Linked DNA regions of Homo sapiens: region 1 is linked to region 2. Evidence: promoter capture Hi-C in human tissues and cell types (Jung and others, 2019). All regions are on one chromosome and are shown on one strand. Each heading gives the region's core, a stretch centred on a gene start or on the middle of the fragment in contact. The rest is flanking DNA. Distances are from core to core; before and after follow the strand shown. Region 1 overlaps RBM39 (RNA binding motif protein 39). Region 2 holds the start of TP53INP2 (tumor protein p53 inducible nuclear protein 2).

The links. Contacts are between HindIII fragments. The study calls those that stand out against the background at their distance.
Region 1: a fragment that was not itself captured here is called in contact with the fragment with the promoter of TP53INP2 in region 2 in 1 of the 25 tissues and cell types used here (dorsolateral prefrontal cortex).

What each region holds. Positions count from the first base shown.
Region 1 is chr20:35,733,145-35,738,113 of GRCh38, reverse strand. All of the region lies in intron 3 of RBM39 (RNA binding motif protein 39), which reads left to right. Among named protein-coding and RNA genes, the nearest start is that of RBM39, 6.6 kb to the left of the region's middle. The HindIII fragment of the contact is 5,614 bases long and covers 1-4,337 here.
Region 2 is chr20:34,701,249-34,705,996 of GRCh38, reverse strand. TP53INP2 (tumor protein p53 inducible nuclear protein 2) reads right to left here and starts at 1,653. Exons shown (of 5, transcript NM_021202.3): 1 at 1,485-1,653; 2 at 523-639. LOC105372599 (a long non-coding RNA gene) reads left to right here and starts at 1,815. Exons shown (of 2, transcript XR_936690.3): 1 at 1,815-1,860; 2 at 2,184-2,338. RefSeq lists a silencer at 1,378-1,857. The HindIII fragment of the contact is 10,895 bases long and covers 1-4,748 here.

The DNA.
Region 1 (4,969 bases), core at 281-2,780, 1.0 Mb before region 2:
TTCTATCACGGCTCACTGCAACCACTGCCTCCCAGATTCAAGTGATTCCCCTGCCTCAGCCTCCGATTAGCTGGGACTACAGGCGCGCGCCATCACGCCTGGCTAATTTTTTTTTTATTTTTAGTAGAGAGGGAGTTTCACCGTGTTAGCCAGAATGGTCTCCATCTCCTGACCTCTCATGATCCTCCTGCTGTGGCCTCCCAAAGTGTTGGGATTACAGGTGTGAGCCACCGCGCCTGGCCTTTTTTTTTTTTTTTTTTTTTTTGACACGGAGTCTTGCTCTGTTGCCCAGGCTGGAGTGCAGTGGTGTGATCTCTGCTCACTGCAAGCTCCGCCTCCTGGGTTCATGCTATTCTCCTGCCTCAGCCTCCCAGGTAGCAGGGACTACAGGCGCCTGCCACCATGCCTGGCTAATTTTTTGTAATTTTAGTAGAGACAGGGTTTCATTGTGTTAGCCAGAATTGACCTTGTGATCCGCCTGCCTTGGCCTCCAAAAGTGCTGGGATTACAGGTGTGAGCCACCGTGCCCAGCCTCTGTCTTTATTTTTTCTTTGAGACAGAGTTTCGTTTTTGTCACCCAGGCTGGAGCGCCATGACACGATCTCAGCTCACAGCAACCTCTGCCTCCTGGGTTCAGGCAGTTCTCCTGCCTCAGCCTCCCGAGTAGCTGGGATTACAGGTTCCTGCCACCACGCCTGGCTAATTTTTTTTTTTTTTTTTTTTTGAGATGGAGTTTCAGTCTGTTGCCCAGGCTGGAGTGCAGTGGCGCAGTCTTGGCTCACTGCAACCTCTGCCACCCGGGCTTAAGCGATTCTTCCGCCTCAGCCTCCCGAGCAGCTGGGATTACAGGTGCCTGCCACCGCACCTGGCTAATTTTTGTACTTTTGGTAGAGATGGGGATTCACCATCCTGGCCAGGCTGGTCTTCAACTCCTGACCTCGTGATCCACCTGCCTTGGCCTCCCAAAGTGCTGGGATTACAGGCGTGAGCCATCATGCCCAGCCAATTTTTGTGTTTTTAGTAGAGACAGGGTTTCACGATGTTGGCCAGGATGGTCTCCATCTCTTGACCTCATGATCCGCCCGCCTTGGCTTCCCAAAGTGCTGGGATTACAGGCGTGAGACATGGACCCAACTGAGACTCCGTCTTAAAAAAAAAGTCTGGGCTTGGCGTGGTGGCTCACACCTGTAATCCCAGCACTTTGGGAGGCTCAGGCGGGTGGATCACAAGGTCAGGAGATCGAGACCATCCTGGCCAACATGGTGAAACCCCGTCTCTACTAAAAATACAAAAATTAGCTGGGCGTGGTGGTGCACGCCTGTAGTCCCAGCTACTCTCGGGAGGCTGAGGCAGGAGAATCGCTTGAACCTGGGAGGCAGAGGTTGTAATGAGCTGAGATTATGCCATTGTACTCCAGCCTGGAGACAGAGCGAGACTCCGTCTCAAACAAACATAAAAATCTGTCATACTTACGACCTTATGTTAATGAAAAACGAGAGAAAAATAGCCATTTATTTGATTTCTTTTTGGCTCTTTTCCTCCTAAGATCCCTAAATGCTTCATAGTAAGTATGTCAGTCTTTCTCACTACAACTGTGTTAGGTAGGTTGATAAAATTTCATAAAACAGATGAGAAAATATATAATGTTATTCAGGGCTTGTTAAGCCACTATTTTTTTTTTTTGTAGTTCCCCTAAAATAATGTGGTAATGGATTAAAAATGATATAATTTGTAGAAAATGTGCTCCTTTTTTCTGGTATAAGCTTGGATGGGAGTCATTTATAGTTCCTCACCAATCACAAGAAATTGTGGGGATCAGGTTGGGTTTAGTCTTGATGTGGGATCTGATGCAACCAACCAGAGGTATGGTTTATGTCATCTGGTTTTAGACTTTCTGCCACAGTAATGGTTTCCTAATGTTTTTGTTTTGCAATTCTCTAATCAAAAGAAAACCCAGGAAGGTGTATCCATATAAATTGACATAAATTATCCAATTTAGGTGTCAGGCCGAGTGGCTAAAGATTTCGCTTCAAGTGCCAGAAGGATAAGAACGTACACTTTTGGGTACAGACCTTCGTTACTGTACCATTGTCTCATGTCGCTTTTTGCCACTAAGGTCATCTCCGGTGTCTACTTGTTTTTATCCTGTGTATAAGCTGATTAAGGCTACAAGCTTTTACAAGGAAGCTGAGCATCAAGTTCTCCATGTGTGATATTCGGTGGCCTTTGTCTAATGTAGAGAACCACAGGACTAAATAGGAGAATGGACAATTTTCTTTAACCATGAGATTGTCTAAGGGAAGATCCTTTCAAAACACTTTGGTAATCTTAAAATACTTTCCAGTCAGACTTCTCGTCAATTATAGGTGATAAATAAATGATTCCCTTGTTCAATCAGGACTCTTGATTTTCTGAAGGAACTTTATGTTTCAAATTAATTTTAAAGTTACCTGGAAGAAAATTTTTGTATTTAGGAATAGATATAAAACATACAGAACACTCTGCTTTAAACCTTTAGTACTAAATTAAATTTCTTAACCAAAGGAAAGTGCCGTGTTGCATTTTTCATTCTAAAACTTCATTGTCTTAAAAGCCACATTGAGCTATAGTTTGTTAGGTAGTAGAAAAATGGCATGTTCTGAGAAACAGTTGACTGAGTATAAATTTTTTTAATTGTATAATTCTGATTCTTAACATACACTTCATAGTATCCTAGAATAGTAAAAGGAACAAAGTTATTGTGACACAGACTGGTTGTCAACCTATTTTCTGAAGAGCTGTAAACCTGAGTTTTTGCATATGTCAAGGTATGCATCCTAAGTGCTTGAGCTTGCCCTCATGGGAATATTATTTGTTAAAGTAACCAGTTTTGCAAAGTCTAAATCAGCGTCCATTCCGTTAAGCTCTTTAGAGAATTACTCAATAAAAGATAACATTAAAATGACACAGTTGAAATATATTGGCTACTGTGGTGTGGATTATCTATAAATTTTGGAATAAATGACTTTTCTATTTTTTTTCTTATTTTCCAGAATACTTTGCATTAAAAATTTAGATCTTCTTACATGGAAGAGGTCAAATCCAGTTATAGCAAAACACCTTTACTGCAGAGGCCATATAACCAAAAAGTCCAAAGGCCCAGCCCAGTGGACCATTTACTTCAGTGATGTTCAGTACAAAATTTCACTGCCATTAAAGACTTTGGAAAGTCCCTTTTAAGTTGTAACAGGATTTGACTATTAGTGTGGATTTCGATAACCCTTCTTTAGTTAATGTAATAAATGCTCTTTGAAGCTGGAAATATACTGGTTTCTTGCACCCTTGTAGTTTTCTCTGGGCTTTTATGCAAAAGATTGTATTTTCTGAATGTCTTAGTATGTTGCTGTCTTTTTACCTGCCTGGGGTTGCCTTCAGATGTGGGTGAGGACTTGTTTACAAAAAGTCCTAGAAGACCTTAAGTTAAAATTAGCTCTCCAATTTTCAAGTGTTTTCTTTTGGCAGAATAAGTTTTGGGTCCTATGAGAGGTAAATAGGTTGGTTGCCTCTCTTGCTATAGCCCATCTAGAGCAGAACAAAAACTTTGTTTTTGAGGGGGATGGAGTTACTTTTTACCTTGTTCCCTAATTGAATATATTTAGGACTTTTGGTTTTAGAAATCTCAGAGTTCTATAGTTGGAATAGTGTCACAGAGATAGTGTTAGGTTTCTTAGGCAACAAAATTGGAGTGTTACCTATTGCCCATCTGGGCATGGCTTTGATGAGTTCTATATAAATAATGAGTGTAGCCTAATTTTCTGTCATGTGCTACCTAGCATATACATTTCTGACAGTCAGGTGGATTATCTTGAAATTTTAGACAAACTTTCTGCCTCCTTGGAAAGCTCTACATCTCCTTGTGATTGGAGTGTGGGTTTCAAGATTCCAGAAGGTGGGTGTCTTCATTTTCTATTTTCAATGCACTCTAAAGATGACCTGCTTACAGGTTCTCTGAGGCAGACCTCAGTTGCTCTTGTGATATGTAACTTTGCTTTGATAAGGAATAAACAATTACATATCCAGATAATGATACAGAATTGTCAAAATGTTTAATCATTAAGCCACTACAAATAGACATTTTCGTGGAATAAACTGATTTTGAAATGTCTTTCAATTTATATTGAAATATCTGAAGGCACCTCTAAAATTTGGGTGATGACACAGAGGTATAGATTATAAGATTTAATTATGAATGGGTGGTATACTGTGAAGACTACGGAAGTGAGCAGAAAGATATGTTTGGCTTTTTTGGTTTTTAGTTAGAGATTTTAAAAAGGTCTGTGAAGGTCAAGTTGATCATTGGTTTTGATTGCATCCCACAGGTTTCTATAAACTGGCTTAAAAATGGCATACTCCATTTTCTGGTGTATTCATTGTAACTTTAGGAAGTATTTGAAATGGTCACATTAAAGTCTAGGAATGTCAAATTGTATTTTAATGCGTTAGTTCTTTTTCTTTTTCTTTTTTTTTGGAGACAGTCTTGCTCTGTTGCTCAGGCTGGAGTACAGTGGCATGATTTCGGCTCACTCCAACCTCTGCCTCCCAGGTTCAAGCGATTCTCCTGCCTCAGCCTCCACAGTAGCTGGAACTACAGGCCTGTGCCACCACGACCCACTACTTCTTGCATTTTTTAGTAGAGATGGGTTTTCACCGTGTCGACTAGGCTGGTCTTGAACTCCTGACCTCAGGTGACCTGCCTTCCTCAGCCTCCCAAAGTGCTGAGATTACAGGTGTGAGCCACCGCACTTGGAGTTGGGTTTTTTTTTTTTTTTTTGAGATGGTGTTTTGCTCTTTTTGCCCAGGCTGGAGTGCAATGGCATGGTCTCAGCTTGCTGCAACCTCCACCTCCCGGGTTCAAGCAATTCTCTTGCTTCAGCCTCCCAAGTAGCTGTGATTACCGGCATGCACCATCAGGCCTGGCTAATTTTTGTAT
Region 2 (4,748 bases), core at 404-2,903:
GGTCACACAGCAAGTCAGTGACAGCCAGGAGTGAAAGCAGTCACCAGCCAGCCAGTGCCTGCCCCCTCTCCTGACCACTTGGGGAGCCTCCCAGATTTCCTTTCCCAGCCCTGCCAGCTTCCTGGTTCTCACATTCCCAGTTCTGCTCCAGGGAGAACCATTCCCTTTAATAACTACAGCAGCTCTGCCCAGAATAGCATTTGTGCCCTAAGCCACCCCTACCCCCAGCCCATCCTTGAGCAAACTCCCAGCAGGAATGGAGTTCCTGGTTCAGCCTCTAGGCCCATCCACTTGTTAAGTCAGAAACTCTCCTTATCCTATCCCTTCTCCTATACTCTCTGTGGGCAGAGGTGACGAGGGAGCAGCAAAACACCTGCAATTGTCTGCACTAGGCCAGGTCAGGCCCTTCCTAGCTGACGACCTAGGAAGTTGGGAAGGTAAAGGGCCAATAGAGGGAACCCTCACCCCACCCTCCACCCCAACATCAGCCCTGGAGACACCCCGAGGCAGCCAATGACTCACCTCTCTGTGATCCAAACAGCTGGGAGGCAGCGATTTTATTGGACTCTAGGACTTCAAGGTACAGTGAGGACAGAAGGGGTCAGGACCACAAAAGGTGAACCAATCTCCAGAGATTCCCTGGAAAAGGGTCCAGGAGTAAGGACACCTAGGAGCCTATCAAACCGTGATAAGGCTGAGCCCAAGATCGGGTCCCCAGTGGAAGGAGGATGTGTATCTTACCACTTGTACTGAGCCCCTATTATGTCTTTGCCCCTGGCTAATAATCCATCTGTCACTCAGTGAGCATGACTCTAATTGGTTATGTGACCTCGAGAGAGCTAATCCTCCTCTCTGGGCCTGTTGCCCCTTCCATGCACTGGGGTCTAAGACCCTTCATTTTGGGTCTAGGAGTGACATCAGCTAAGGCGCTGCACACAAATCAGGGATTAGGAGGATGTTATTCTGTTAGTCCCTGGGGGCGGAGTCTGGAGCCGGAGGGAGGGGATCCCACCACCATCTGGTGCTGTCCCAACCACCTGGAGTCCCATGCAGCCCTGAACTCCTGACGACCCCCTCAACCTAGGCCCAGCAGCGCCGTCTGACTCCTTCTCAGGTTGCAAAGAGAAAGTAGGGGATCAGAGGCCTGACCCCAGCCCCTGGATAAGCCTAGGAAATCGCCGATCCCCCTGCAGCCCCCTTTGGATTGCAGCGTCTCACCCAGGGCCCAGCCCCGACACAGCGGCTACCGGGTCACGGGAGGACAAGCGACCCGAGCCTGTGGGGGCGGTACCGGCCTTGGTGACGTCTCAATGTCATATGCAAATAGAACGACGTCATGGTCTACCGGGCGTGCGGCAACCAATCGGGAGCCGGGAACGCGGCCCCGGCGGCCGCCGGCGGAGACAGACAAAGGCCCGGGCGCGGGGGGCGCAGGGCGTGTCCGTGGCAGGGGAGCCCCCAGGCCCACCCGGGTCGGGACTCACCTGGGGGCGGGAGGGGGGCGGCACGGCGTTGAGGTAGTTGTGCGGCGGGGCGTCCCAGGGTCGCCGGCCGCTCACAGGCCGGGCCGCATCGCCGGGACTCGCGGGGGAGGCGGCGGGGCCGCGGTCGCTCCGGGCTGCTGAGCTCGCCCGCGGGGCTTTGAGTCTGTGCGGCCGCTGCGGCGGGGCTCACGGCACAAATTGGAACGTTCAAACAGCTGATTGTGACGTCACAAAGGGGCCCGCCCGCCTCGCGTCACCGGCTGGCGGGGCGGCGGCCAATCCCGGGCTGCGGATCCCCCCCTGCCCCTCCCCTCCCCTCCCCTCCCGGTTTGCGGGCCGGGCGCTCGGGCCGGGAAACGTTCTCGGAACCGGGAGGGTGAGTGTTCGGGGAGGCAGCTGCGGGGAGCTGGGAGCCCTGCGCCGCGGCGAGCTCTCCGCGAGGAGGATCTCCACTCCCTCCTACCGGCTCCTTATTTTCCTGATTCTTCCCGGATCGCAGCGCCCTCACCTCTCCCACTGCTCCCCAAATCCTTTCACTGCATCCTATATCCAAGTCCCCCGATGCGGACCCTGTTCTCGACCCACACCACGTCCGTGCACCTGCATTCTCCCCACTGCCCTTATTCCTGCTCTCCCTCCCCCCTCTGGCTCACCTCCTCAGCCTTACACACTCTGCTTTCCCACCCCGTTTTTCCTCAGCTCGGCGGGCTTGAGAAAAGAGGGACATCCCCAACCCCCGGTTCCCGGGGAGCATCTGGGAATGTAGAGAAGTTAGTGAAGCTGACGTGAAATTTCGCAGAGTAGGACTTGGAGAGGAATTGCCCTGGGCTGAGTAAACATTGACCTGAGACGGCTCCGCGCTTGAACGTTTACATACCTTATTTAATCTATGTTGCTACCGGGGCTGTAAAGAAGTGGCAGGACAGGGACTGATTATGAGTCCTGATTTACACGTGGGAAAGCTGAGTCTCACAATCTCACTGTTAGCGTGTGAACTCATGTTCAACAATGCATTCAACATTTATTAGGCACCTACTATTGCACCACCATACCACTAGCTGACATGTATTGGCACACTTACTGTGTGCCACGACCTGTGCTATGGGTGTGTTTTTTTATCTTCACAACAACCCAAAAGGTAGATATTGTCCCGTTTAACAGTTGAGGAAACAGACTCAGAGAGCTCAAGTGACTTTCTTAGGTCACAAAAGTACAGTCAATGGCAGAGCCAGGATTTGAACCCATAGCTCCCAGCCCTGACCCTCTCCATTCTCTACATGAACCAGATGGTCTAAACCTCAGGGCGCTTTAGCCTCCCCAGAGTCCTGGCTTTCAGTCCTGACTGTGCCCTAGACTTGCTGTGTGACCTCAAGTCATGTTACCTCTCTGGGTCTCAGTTTGTCAAACAAACATATCCAGGCTTCCCTCTAGAGCTGCCATTGTAAGATTCTTCCACACTCTCTGCCCTCAGGATTCCACCCACCCCACGCTCTAGGCCCCAGCTCTCCCAGTGGCCTGGGAGATGCCCGAGAAGAGACCACAAATACACATATCAGAATCTCCAGGGCCAGAGGTTCTAGGTCAGCAGAGCAGGGCTGGTGGGGGAGGGTCCGAGAACTGCCCACCTAGCCCAAAAGGAGGCCGGAGGTGACCTAGGCCAGAGGTTAATGATCTAGTGATAAAACTTTTTTTTTTTTTTTGAGACGGAGTCTCGCTCTTGTTGCCCAGGCTGCAGTGCAGTGGCACGATCTCGGCTCACTGCAAGCTCCGCCTTCCGGGTTCACGCCATTCTCCTGCCTCAGCCTCCCGAGTAGCTGGGACTACAGGCGCCCGCTACCACGCCCGGCTAATTTTTTGTATTTTTTGTATTTTTGTATGTTTAGTGTTAGCCAGGATGGTCTCGGTCTCCTGACCTTGTGATCTGCCTGCCTCGGCCTCCCAAAGTGCTGGGATTACAGGCGTGAGCCACCGTGCCCGGCACTCTAGTGATAAAACTCTATCCCAGCCTCATCTGAAACCCCCAAGGGACTCCTTAACCCTAGCGACAGGGGAAGAAGCCAGAAAAAAATAACCCAAGGCTGAGGGGTGGAGAGGGGAGTGGCATTGTGGCCCTTGGAGTGTTATACCCAAAGTGTCCTCATTCCATGCAACTCTGAGCCTCTGCCCATCACAGCCACTTCCTGCTAACCTCATACCCTTTCAGACCTACTTGCTGACTTTAATTAAATAATCCCTAACACGTCTCTCCTGTCAAGCCACTTGTTTGTTCTAAAACCTGATGTGGCTCCTAAAGCCCCACACTCCTAACACAGAACTCATGCCCCCCATGCTCCGGCCCCAGTTCTCTCCAGCTTCACCTCCCCTTCTCCTACACGCATCTTGTGCTAAAGTCAAACTCCTTGTTGACTCTACAGCACTCTCCCACCTCCACCCTTTTGCTCAAGCTGTTTCCCCTGCCTGGAATGCCTTCTTCAGAACTTTCTGAAATCCAGATCTTTCCTGTCTTCAAGATTCTACTTGGCCAGGTGTGGTGGCTCACAGCCATAATCCCAGCACTTTGGGAGGCCAAGGCAGGAGGATTGCTTGGGGCCAGGAGTTTGAGACCAGCCTGGCCAATATAGCGAGACCACTTATCTGCAAAAAATGAGAAAATTAGCCAGATGCCATGCACCTGTAGTCCCAGCTGCTTAGGGAGGCTGAAATAAGAAGATCACTTGGGTTTAGGTTACAATGAGCTATGATCAAGCCACTGCATTCCAGCTTGGATGACAGAGCCAGACCCTGTCTCTTAAAAAAGAGAGAGAGAGGGAGAGATTCTACTCACCCTTTCTTCCTCTAGGTAGCCTTCCTTGTCCCTACCCACGAGTTGATGGCTACCTTGATGGACGTTTATTTGTCCATAAACAGTAAGTGATGATGACTCATTGTATGTGTATGTGTCTTCTCAAGTGGATGGTTGGCATCCCAAGGGCAGAGTCTTTGTCCCTATACTGCCCGCACCCAGCTTGTGGGGGTCTGGCATAGAGTAGACTTTCATCACAGGCTCAGTAGTTATAGCTTGAAGCTTAAGAAGGGTGGCTGGGGGCTGGGCACGGTGGCTCACGCCTGTAATCCCAGCACTTTGGGAGGCTGAGGCGGGCGGATCACGAGGTCAGGAGATTGAAACCATTCTGGCTAACACGGTGAAACCCCGCCTCTACTAAAAATACAAAAAATTAGCCAGGCGTGGTGGCGGGCGCCTGTAGTCCCAGCTACTCGGGAGGC